Regions from separate parts of the Homo sapiens genome. Here all the other regions are linked to region 2. Evidence: promoter capture Hi-C in human tissues and cell types (Jung and others, 2019). All regions are on one chromosome and are shown on one strand. Each heading gives the region's core, a stretch centred on a gene start or on the middle of the fragment in contact. The rest is flanking DNA. Distances are from core to core; before and after follow the strand shown.

Region 1 (3,901 bases), core at 286-2,785, 480 kb after region 2:
AAGCATATGAAAAGACCTCTATATCCTATGTCATCGGGAAAATGCAAATTCAAACAATGAAATACTACTACGTATCTATTGGAATGGCCCAAATCTGGAATACTGACAATACCAAATGCCGTGGAGGATGTGGAATAACAGAAACCCTCATTCACTGCTGGTGGGAATGTAACACGGTACAACCACTTTGGAAGATAGTTTGGCAGTTTCTTACACCACTAAACATACTTTTACCATACAATCCAGCAATCAAGCACCTTGGTATTTACCCACGTGTTAAAAATTTACGTCTAGGTGGCCGGGCACGGTGGCTCACGCCTGTAATCCCAGCACTTTGGGAGGCGAGATGGGCGGATCACCTGAGGTCAGGAGTTCAAGACCAGCCTGTCCAACATGGTAAAATGCCGTCTCTACTAAAAATACAAAAATTAGCTGGGTGTGGTGGCAGGCACCTGTAATCCCAGCTACCCAGGAGGCTGAGGCAGGACAATCGCTTGAACCCGAGAGGCGGAAGTTGCAGTGAACCTAGATCATGCCACTGCACTCCAGCCTGGGGAAAGAGAGCGAGACTTTGTCTCAAAAAAAAAAAAAATTATGTCTACATAAAAACCTGTACATGGATGTTTACAGCAGCTTTATAATTACCAAAGCTTAGAAGCAACGAAGATGCCCTTCGATAGGTGAATAAACTTACCAGACAGTTCTCCGGGTGGCCTTGGGCCACCCAGTTCTCCGCTTTCTCACTTATAGTATTCAAGAATAACCGTAGATTGTTCTGGGAATGCAGCATCCTGGGATAACGAGGGACTGGACAGCACAGCCTGAGCTCTATTCCAGGCCCTCCTAGAAATAGAATATCCTTTAAAAAAAAAGAAAACAAGAAAGAAATAGGACGTCCTTCAACATTTTAGCCCACCAAGTCCTGTTGTCCCTAGGATACAAAACCCAGGGCAGTTTGCTAGTGAGGTAAGCAAGACATACACACTGACAAGACTCCATTCACCCCAGGCAGCTTTTGTGAGCCTCGGGGGACTGGCTGAGTCCTAGGCTACGCTGTCCCTTGCTGCCTATCTGTAAGTAATACATCTGGTGCGTGTAGCTTATTTGATTGGGGGGGTTTTTCTGTTCCACCCAACTCAAGCAAGTTGGTAGCCAGGGCATAATTAATCTGCTTTGAAAAACTGTGGAATAGCCAGACATTATTCAGTGCTAAAAGGAAACGTGCTATCAAACCACGAAAATGTGTCCAGAATTGGTGGGTTCTTGGTCTCACTGACTTCAAGAATGAAGCCGCAGACCCTCGCGGTAAGTGTTACAGTTCTTAAAGGCGGCGTGTCCAGAGTTTATTCTTTCTGACGTTCGGATGTGTTCAGAGTTTCTTCCTCCTGGTGGGTTCGTGGTCTCACTAGCTCAGGAGTAAAGCTGCAGACTTTCGCAGTGAGTGTTACAGCTCTTAAGTCGACGCATCTGGAGTTGTTCGTTCCTCCCGGTGGGTTCGTGGTCTCGCTGGCTTCAGGAGCAAAGCTGCAGACCTTCCCGGTGAGTGTTACAACTCATAAAAGTAGTGTAGATCCAAAGAACAAACAGCAACAAAATTTATTCCAAAAAGTGAAAGAATAAAGCTTCCTCTCTCCACCCCCCAACCCCCCCCCCCCCCCCCCCCCCGGAGAAATAGGACCCGAGTACATTGCCACTGCTGAGTCGGGGCAGTCTGCTTGCACTGCTGAGTCGGGGCAGTCTGCTTTTATTCTCCTATCTGGCCCCACCCACATCCTGCTGATTGGTCCATTTTACAGAGCGCCGATTGGTCTGTTTTACAGAGAGCTGATTGGTCCATTTTGACAGGGTGCTGATTGGTGCGTTTACAATCCCTGAGCTAGACACAAAAGTTCTCCACGTCCCCACTAGATTAGCTAGACACAGAGTGTCCATTGCTGCATTCACAAACCCTGAGCTAGACACAGCGTGCTGATTGGTGTGTTTACAAACCTTGAGCTAGATACAGAGTGCTGATTGGTGTATCCACAATCCCCCAGCTAGACATAAAAGCTCCCCAAGTCCCCACTAGACTCAGGAGCCCAGCTGGCTTCACCCAGTGGATCCCGCATCGGGGCCACAGGTGGAGCTGCCTGCGGGTCCCGCGCTGTGAACCCACACTCCTCAGCCCTTGGGTGATCGATGGGACTGGGCGCCCTAGAGCAGGGGGCAGCGCTCTCCGGGAGGCTCGGGCCGTGCAGGAGCCCACGGCGTGGGGGAGAGGAAGGGGTGGAGGCTCAGGCATAGTGGGCTGCAGGTCCCGAGCCCTGCCCAGCAGGGAGGCAGCTAAGGCCTGGCGAGAAATCCAGCACAGCAGCTACTGGCCCAGGTGCTAAGCCCCTCACTGCCCGGGGCTTGCGGGCTGGCTGGCCGCTACGAGTGCGGGGCCCGCCGAGCCCACGCCCACCCAGAACTCGCGCTGGCCCCCAAGCGCCCCGTGCAGCCCCAGTTCCTGCCCGCGCCTCTCCCTCCACACCTCCCCGCAAGCTGAGGGAGCCAGCTCCAGCCTTGGGCAGCCCAGGAAGGGGCTCCCACAGTGCAGTGGTGGGCTGAAGGGCTCCTCACGTGCCGCCAAAGTGGGAGCCCAGGCAGAGGAGGCGCCGAGAGTGAGCGAGGGCTGCCAGCAGGCTGTCACCTCTCAAAAACACGTGGAGGAACCTGAAATGCATATTACTAAGTCAAAGAAGCCAATCTGAAAAGGCTACATATAGTATGATTCCAACTCTATGATATTCTAGAAAAGGCAAAACTGTGGAGACAGTAAAAAGATCAGTGGTTGCTAGGGGTTGGTGGGGCTGGGAGGGTTGAATAGGTAGAGCATAGAGGATATTTAGGTCAGCGAAAATAGTCTGTGTGATACTTTAATGTTGTATATATGTCATTATACATTATAGAAAGTACAACACAAGTCCAGGCACGGTGGCTCACACCTGTAATCCTAGCACTCTGGGAGGCCAAGGCAGGCGGATCACTCGAGCTCAGGAGTTCAAAACCAGCCTGGGCAATATGGCAAAACCCTGTCTCTACTAAAAAAACCAAACCAAAACAAAACAAAAAAACCACACACACACACACAAAAATTAGTCAGCTGTGGTGGCACACACCTGTAGTCCTAGCCACTTGGGGGGCTGAGGTGGGAGGATCCCTTGAGCCCAGGAGGTCAAGGCTGCAGTGAGTCGAGATCGTACCACTGCACTGTAGCCTGGGTGACAGAGACCCTGTCTCAAAAACAAACAAACAAGAAAGTAAACCAACAGTGAACCTTAATGTAAACTGTGGACTTTGATTGATAATGATGTGTCAGTGTAGGTTTATCAATTGTAACAAATGTACTCCTTTGGTGGCCGGATGTAGTAGCTCATGCCTGTAATCTCAGCACTTTGGGAGGCTGAGACAAACGGATCATCTGAGGTCAGGAGTTCGTGACCACCCTGGCCAATATGGTAAAACCCTATCTCTACTAAAAATACAAAAATTAGCTAGGCGTGGTAGTGGATGCCTGTAATCCCAGCTACTTGGGAGGCTGAGGCAGGAGAATCGTTTGAACCAGGGAGGCAGAGGTTGCAGTGAGCTAAGATGTGCCACTGCACTCTAGCCTGGGCGACAGAGCGAGACTCCATCTCAAAAAAAAAAAAAAAAAAAAAAGTACTCCTCTGGTGAGGGATGTTGATAATGGGGAAGGTAGGTTATGTATGTGTAGGGACAGGGGTATATGGGAACTCTTGTACCTTCCTCTAAAAAAATTAGTCTAAAAAAAAGCATAAGGACTAAAAGCTGGGTTTGAGCTCCAATTCTGCAATTACCTGTGAGCTTCAGGCAGTGTCTCTCTGGCCTCTGGGCCTCATTTTTCTTTTTCTTTTCTTTG
Region 2 (3,705 bases), core at 125-2,624:
TTTTAGTAGAGACGGGATTTTGCCATGTTGGCCAGGCTGGTCTCAAACTCCTGACCTCAGGTGATCCACCCGCCTTGGCCTCCCAAAGTGCTGGGATTACAGGCGTGAGCCACAGCGCCCGGCCTAGATGCTTTATTTTTTTTGAGGCAAGGTCTCGTTTTGTTGCCCAGGCTGGAGTGCAGTGGTACCATCATGGCTCTCTGCAGCCTTGACCTCCTGGGCTCAAGCCATCCTCCTGCCTCAGCCTCCCGAGTAAATGAGACCACACTGTCACCATGCCTGGCTAGTTTGTTTTTTGTTTTTTTTTTTTGTAGAGATCGGGGGTTAGTCTCACTCTTGTTTAGGCTGGTCTCGAACTCCTGGGCTCAAGTGATCCTCCCAAAGTGCTGAGATTACAGGTGTGAGCCACCGTGCCCGGCTTTTATGTATTCTTTCAACAACGCTGCACGGCTGCGATTATCCCCACTTTGAGAGGAGACAGGATGAGAGGCTGAGTGGCTTGCTAGGCTTGTATGGACAGGATGCGGGCTCTGCAATCACATGACTTTGTATGAGAGGGCAAATGGATTAACCGCTAAACATAGTTTCCTGTTGTGTAAAATGGGGATGATGATAGTATCCACCCTGCGGACTGTGCGGGCTGAGATAATCCCACAAAGTGCTCTTAGGACCTGGCAGGTGGAAAGTGCTCATGATCACCTCTGCCAAGGCTGCACAAGTAGCGAGTGGCCGAGCTTTATATCCGAAGTTAGGACCCTGCAGTTTTGCCCCTCTCCTCTCTCTCCCTCTCCTTCCCGGCTCCGGGGAAAGGAAAATTTATGGCTCCGGGTCGGGGGTTGCGGGGGACCTCTGTGCCGTGCTCCGGGGCCGAGCTCTCCCCGCCGGCCTCTCCCGCGTCCGTCCGGCCGCCCTCCCGCCCAACCTCTCCCGCCCAACCTCTCCCGCGTCCGCCCGCCCGCCCAACCTCTCCCGCGTCCGCCCGCCCGCCCAACCTCTCCCGCGTCCGCCCGCCCGCCCAACCTCTCCCGCGTCCGCCCGCCCGCCCAACCTCTCCCGCGTCCGCCCGCCCGCCCAACCTCTCCCGCGTCCGCCCGCCCGCCCAACCTCTCCCGCGTCCGCCCGCCCGCCCAACCTCTCCCGGCCCCGCCCGCCCGCCCGCCCAACCTCTCCCGGCCCCGCCCGCCCGCCCGCCCAACCTCTCCCGGCCCCGCCCGCCCGCCCGCCCAACCTCTCCCGGCCCCGCCCGCCCGCCCGCCCAACCTCTCCCGGCCCCGCCCGCCCACCCAACCTCTCCCGGCCCCGCCCGTCCAACCTCTCCCGGCCCCGCCTGCTGGCCGGACGTCCGGTCTGCAGGCGCGCGCTCCCGAGGTCCCGCCTCGCCCGCTGAGCCGGCCTGTAAGCGCTGCGGAGATTGGGCTAGAGGCGGAGGCCTGGGCCACGGCGGAGGCGCTGGGTACGTAGCGCGCCACGCGGGCCGGTGAGAGCCAGCCGGGCGCCGGGGAGGGGGCGGGCCCTGGCCGCGGCTGCTACGCGGGGCTGCCACCGCCCCGGGCGACCCAATTTCGCGGCCTAGTGGGGCGTACGGGCCTCTTTTGAAAGCCTGAGTTACGATGTATTGAGCGCGTCGTATGCGGCCAGCACTAAGGCAAGTGCTTTTATATCCACGGCCCATTGTCTTGACAGCAACCCTACCAAGCAACGTGTTATTTCCTCTGTTTTACGGCTGAGGACGCGCAGGAAGGTTTACAGCTAGAAAGGGCTGGAGATTGTGGATTCAAACTCAGGATCAGACCAAAGCCACTGCCCTTTAGAACTTTGCGGGCCGATTGATTCTTGAATCTAGCTTCTGCCACTTCAGTTGTGTGACCTTGGGGTATCTTTCCGATCCCAAGTTTGCTCATCTGAAAAATGGGAATAAAGCTACAGTATCTGTCCCATAGGGTGGGTATAAAGTGCTTTACTGTTGAGCTGAGTGATCATCTCCGATTTTCAGACCCCTCTCCTCCGCTTCCCTCTCCCCTGGGAGGCCAGTTAAGGTTTTAGTGAAGGCCCCCGGGACTGGGGCGGCGTGGATCTCACGCCCACCAACTAGTGAGGGAGGCCATCCGGCCACCCGTCTCTTCCTTCCCCAGCTCCGCAAAGGAGGCGTTGGCATTTCAGGTGTTTGCTTACAGAGTTTTCAAAGATTTTTCACTCTCCCTTAGTTGTGGGAAAATGATTCAACCTACCCAAGTGAACTTTGACATTAAGTCTCAATTCTAACGGTGAGGAAATGGAAGCCTTTGAATATGTTTTATGTCTTAAACGTGTTTGTTTTTGCAGGAGGGAGAGTGCTCATTTTACCTGAATAAATCAAGATTGAGTTGGTGTGGCACAGTGCTGGCATAGGCCTGGGGAAAGGGGTGAAATGCTAGAGATCTGGTAGATGGATAGAAAGTGGACAGACGGGTTCGGGTGGTTTTTGTCTCAGCAGGGCCCTAAATTCCCACCAAATCCTCCTCTGTCTGTCTTCACCAAGGTCTGAATCTGTCCCCTTGGTAAATAACGTTTAAATGGTCTCCGAGCCCCTCTTGGTGCCTGTACCTTAAGGAGAGAAGAAGAGGGCTGATAGCTGAAGGCAGGCAAGCCACGAACTTAGCTTTGTTTTGAAAATTACCCTCTGGGCCGGGCACGGTGGCTCACGCCTGTAATCCCAGCGCTTTGGTAGGTTGAGGAGGGTGGATCACCCGAGGTTAGGAGTTCGAGACCAGCCTGGTCAACATGGTGAAACCCCCGTGTCAACTAAAAATGCAAAAAAATTAGCCGGACATGGTGGTGCATGCCTGTAGTCCCAGCTACTCGGGAGGCTGAGGCAGAAAAATCGCTTGAACCCGGGAGGCTGAGGTTGCAGTGAGCCGAGATCGTGCCACTGCACTCCAGCCTGGGCAAGAGAGTGAGACTCCTTCTCAAAAGAAAGAAAGAAAGAAAAAATTACCTGCTGGGAGGCCGAGCGCGGTGGCTCACGCCTGGTAATCCCAGTATTTTGGGAGGCTGAGGCAGGCAGATCACCTGAGGTCAGGAGTTTGAGACCAGCCTGGCCAACATGGTGAAACTCCATCTCTACTAAAAATACAAAAAAATTAGCTGGGTGTGGTGGCGGGTGCCTGCAATCCCAGCTACTCAGGAGGTCGAGGTAGGAGAATCACTTGAACTCAGGAAGCAGAGGTTGCAGTGAGCTGAGATCGTGCCACTGCACTCCAGCCTGGGTGACAAGAGCAAGACTCTGTTTCAAAAAAAAAAAAAAAAAAAAAAAGGAAAAGAAAAAGAAAATTACCTGCTGGCACAGTTTTAGATTGATAGCTTTAGATTGAAACTTTCACATTTTTATTTTGAAGATTACAGAGGATAAAAGTTCTGGTTAATTGTGAATGTTGATATTTTAAAATAAAGCTGTTAAAATCCTCATTTAAACCTGCAGTGAAGTCTAAATATACACCATTTGATTTGATTTCCCTCATCTTTTGAAAAAAAAAAAAAGAACCACTTTTTATTTAACCATCGAAATTTCAAATCGTTCTTTTTTTCCTTTATTTTTTCCGAGATGGGATCTTGCTCTGTTGCTCAAGCTGGAGTGCAGTGGCAGTCACTGGTTACTGCACCCTTGACCTGCTGAGCTCAATCCTCCCACCTTAGCCACCAAAGTAACTAAGAGTACGGGTGTCTGTC
Region 3 (4,209 bases), core at 549-3,048, 290 kb after region 2:
CCTTCCTCCCTCTGCCCAGCCCAATTTACCTCCCACCACTCCCCGCTGCCAAAACTTCCCAGGCCTCAGTTGTACCCCTCTTCTGGGTCTCCCCCCTATACCTCCTGTTTGTGCCGGGCCTTTGCCAGCCAACCTGCCCTCTGCTGCCCTGTTGGCCTGGCTCACTTTCAGCTCCAGCTCTTGGAGCGCTGGGGTGTGCTGAATGAATATTCCATCTGGGTGATTATTATTCACATGATATTAATTAATTATTAATTGCAATTAATCTCCTTCATGCCTAACCTTCCTCTGGGAGGCAGGAGGGGCCTGGCAGCTGAAAGGGACAGTGGGCAGGCAGGTAGAGCTGGCTTGGGGCCTCAAGTTATTTTCCAAGGCCCCACCTTCAGCCAGGACAGGAAGAACAACAAGCCTATCTGGGCACTGTGTGGAAACTGAGGCAGGAGCAAGCACTAAGTTGTTCCAAGAAAGCCCACTAAGGTGGCTGTGGTGAGAACCTGAGAGCCCTAATCCCTGACTGGAATCTGGGCTGCCTCTCCCTGCCCCCAACTTGCCCCATCCAAGCCCTGTTTTGAACAGAACAACTAGCTTTGGCCAGAGCAGAGCAGGGGGCCATTGGAAGGCTGACCCAAAGCAGACCTGAGACCTAGGCATTAGTGGTCCCTGTACACTGAGGGCAGGGGACCCTACAATAATGGAAGGGGGCCCTGGGGCTGGGCAGGCCTGGTGCTCCCCACCAGTGGGCTCCAGCACCCACCGGATAGCCCACTGTACAGAAGGGGACCCTGCGGGGCAGCTGCTGAGGGGGACTCCAACCCTGGTTACCCCGTGGGCTTCCTGGGGCTCTGAGGCCTGCTTCAGCCCCTGGCCTCACCACCCAGCCCCACTCACCGGGCCCCCTGGTGGCTCCTGGCGGACCCTTGTGTCCAGCTGCTGCTTTCGGACCTCTCCCCCGGAGCTCTCCCTAACCAGACGGCTGGGTTCCGTGACCTCAGGGGCTCCTGGGCCTCCCAGCTGGGGTAAGCCCCCCCATCGCAGAGCTCCAGCAGGACCTTGGGTCCCAAGACCTGGGGAAACAAGGCCATGGCTGCAGGCAGCTGCCCACCCTGGGGCAGAAGACTTGGGAATGGGGTGGGCATGCCTCATCCCCCACTCTGGTGTGGCCCCTGGAGCCCTAGGGCGATCCGGGTGGGAGGATCTGGCTGCCCTGCAGAGGCAAGAGCCCGCGGGGAGGGGGCCAGGAGCTTCACTCCCGCCCAACCGTCACGACTGCCCCCCCATCCGCCCAAACCCGCAGAGACCTGCAGAGCTGGCCGGTCGGCGGCAGGGGCAGGGACGCGGTGGGCCCGGCCAGCTGGGGACAGGTGGGTGGACGCACCTTCCCTCCTCTCCCGCTCCCCTACCCTCCCGCGCTCCGGACCGGCTGTCACCCCGAGCACTGCAGGAAAAGGTGGCTGCAGCAGCAAGCGCCGCACATCCCGGGGCGGGGGCAGGGAGGGGGCGCCGGGGCCGGGCGGGGGTCACTCACCGGGCGTGGGGAGCAGCGACAGCAGCAGAGCCGCGAACGCCCAGCGCCGCAGCAGCCTCATGGCTCGCTCATTCCTCCCGGTCCGGGGGCTGCGGCTGCCAGCGGCGCGGGGAGGGCGGGAGCAGGGACGGGGGTGGGGAGGCGCCAGCTGCGGAGCCGGGGCGGGGGCGCGGGGCCGGGCGGGGGTCGCGGAGAGGTGGGGGCGGCAGGGACGGCGCCGGGGCTCAGCGCGCTCCGGCCGCGGCCATCCCGGCGGGGCGGCGGGGCCGGGTTAAGAGCTGAGCAGCGAGCACGTGAGCCCAGGGCCCGCCCTCCGCTCTCCCGCCGCCCCCCGGCCCCCCCAGCCCCGCAGGGCCCGGGCCGCCGCCGCGGCAGGACAAAAGAGGCGCCGCCCCGGGGTCCCTCCTCGCACCTCGAAGTCTCCTCGGCAGGTGCGGGGCGGTGGCGCTCCGCGTACTTATCCCGCGGCCTCTCCTCGGCCACCTCTGCCTGAGCATCTCCGAGGACTCGTAGATTTGTAGGGGAGGGAAGCAGGGGACGGGGTACCCCCGGGGTCGACCCGGCGACTGCCTGTCTGGGGCCCGGGGGCAGGGGCGTGGCTGCGGCGCCCACGTTCGCCCCTCTGTCGTGGTACCCCAGAGAGGCTGCCCCAGCCCCAGCTTGGAGCGCCCCGCTTGACCCCAGGCTGTGGAAGCTGGGGTTGGGGTGGGCAAAGGCTCTTGGCGAACGCCGGGCTCTACGCCTCTGGGATTTCTTGCACCTTCGCTACGGGTCGTGTCACTGCGGAGTCCTCTCACGCCCGCGGTACAGACCCCTTCCCATCGGCTCCTTCTCCCCGCCAAAGATGCCCCGGCCTCCAGGAGGGCTTCAGGGATCGCTGTCACTCCAACCATCAGGAAGGGCTGGCATGTCCGTCTGGGTTCCTGAGTCTCTCACAGGCGTCCTGTCCTTCCTCCTAGATAAAATATAAACTAGCCAGGTCACTTATATGCTGCTAGCATGCCCCATGGCTCCCCCTCCCTTGCTAGTCCCAATCCTTAGGAGCAGAAGACACCTCTGGAGCCCCCCAGCATTCCCTCTCTGGTCAGACTAGGCTGCCCTGTCTGCAAAATACTTGACCTCCCAACCTACATTCCCAGCTGTGCCCTCCACCCAGCTCCTGGGGATGTTGGGTCCCAATACCAGGGCTGGGACCTCAGACTTCTGCTAGGGGTGCTGAAGGCCAGATACCTGAGATGGTGTGGGGTGTGGTAGGGCATGGTGGGTGGGCCGCTGAGTCCCCACCCTGACCTTTTTGGTACCCATGCTAGGGGACCACAGGTTGCTGAAGAACAAGATTGGAGGCAGGAAACCCCTTCCTGGGTCCTCTGCTTCCGCAAGGACCCAGGGCCTCTGCTGGGGATGAGGGAACTGCCTCTAGCTTGTGACACCCCCACCCCCCGCTCTATTTTAGGCCCAGGAGAGGTGAGAAGGCGATTTCCCAGGAGGCGCTGACATCAATGTAGGGAACCAAGTGACTCCCCCCACCCCCAACCACCTGCCATGCCAGGCCCAGATGCTCAGTAAGGCTGAGCCAATTCTTCCTTCGCTCTGGAGACATCTTGAGAACCTCCTCCAAGATGTAGGCATGAGGAGGCTCCTGGGAATGAGGGCCTACTAGGTGGTATTCCTGGAAACTCATCATGAGCCCAGAGGGAGAGATTGTGCTCCCCATTTTACAGATGGGGAAACTGAGGCTCTGAGAGGTTATGTGAGCTTCTCAAAGTCACACAGCTGGTGAAAGGCACATCCCATACTCCATGGCCCCACTCCTCTTAGCCACCCCTAGTCCTACTTCCATCTCTGCCCTCCATTTGGGACCAGAGGGGACTGGTATATCTGGTCCCATGCACCCTCACCACACACCCCAGACACGAAGGTGGCTGTCCTGCTCCAGCCTGCCCATGTCCCAGGGCCACATCAGCAAGTCCCGATCAGGAGTGCCCCCCAGTAGGCTGGGTGAGGTTTGTCATTTCACAGTGCGAGCCCGGGGCTGGGAGAGTCTGGGTCCTCCAACATGTTCAAGACCACAGAGCAAGCCCAATCTGTGGTCCAGGCCTCTTCACCAGAGGCATGTTCCTACCACATCGGTGGCCCTGGGACCCTAGACTTCCTGTTGGGGAGACCTGATGAGCCCTAAGAGTGACTCTCCCTGGTGGCACCCTGGGCTAGTTCCAGTGGAGACTCGGTCATATGGCTCCCTGGCCCCCATAGCCACTTATATTCCTGGGTTCCCCGGCTCCCAGCAGATCTGGCTAGAACTTACTTTTTTTTTTTTTTTTTTTTTGAGACAGAGTCTGGCTCTGTCGCCCAGGCTGGAGTGCAGTGGCACGATCTCGGCTCACTGCAAGCTCCGCCTCCCGGGTTCACGCCATTCTCCTGCCTCAGCCTCCTGAATAGTTGGGACTACAGGTGCTCGCCACCACGCCCAGCTATTTTTTTTTTTTTTTTGTATTTTTAGTAGCGACGGGGTTTCACATGTTAGCCAGCATGGTCTCGATCTCCTGGCCTCGTGATCCACCCGCCTCGGCCTCCCAAAGTGCTGAGATTACAGGCGTGAGCCACCGCACCCGGCTAGAACTTACTATTTTTTTTTTTTCTTTTGGAGAGTCTCGCTCTGTCACCCAGGCTGGAGTAAAGTGGCA

What was found. The method cuts DNA at HindIII sites, captures the fragments that hold promoters and counts their contacts. A contact is called where the count stands out against the background at its distance.
Region 1: a contact is called between a fragment that was not itself captured here and the fragment with the promoter of DCAKD in region 2, in 1 of the 25 tissues and cell types used here (dorsolateral prefrontal cortex).
Region 3: the fragment with the promoter of ADAM11 here is called in contact with the fragment with the promoter of DCAKD in region 2 in 1 of the 25 tissues and cell types used here (heart right ventricle).

What each region holds. Positions count from the first base shown.
Region 1 is chr17:44,566,820-44,570,720 of GRCh38, reverse strand. No RefSeq gene overlaps it. Among named protein-coding and RNA genes, the nearest start is that of FZD2, 11 kb to the right of the region's middle. RefSeq lists a silencer at 3,353-3,553. The HindIII fragment of the contact is 4,266 bases long and covers 1-3,668 here.
Region 2 is chr17:45,049,301-45,053,005 of GRCh38, reverse strand. DCAKD (dephospho-CoA kinase domain containing) reads left to right here and starts at 1,374. Exons shown (of 5, transcript NM_001288655.2): 1 at 1,374-1,645. RefSeq lists a silencer at 1,234-1,733. The HindIII fragment of the contact is 12,750 bases long and covers 1-3,705 here.
Region 3 is chr17:44,756,577-44,760,785 of GRCh38, reverse strand. It overlaps ADAM11 (ADAM metallopeptidase domain 11), which reads right to left and starts at 1,798. Exons shown (of 27, transcript NM_002390.6): 1 at 1,526-1,798; 2 at 889-1,064. The coding sequence starts at 1,586. RefSeq lists an enhancer at 1,606-2,157. The HindIII fragment of the contact is 11,776 bases long and covers 1-4,209 here.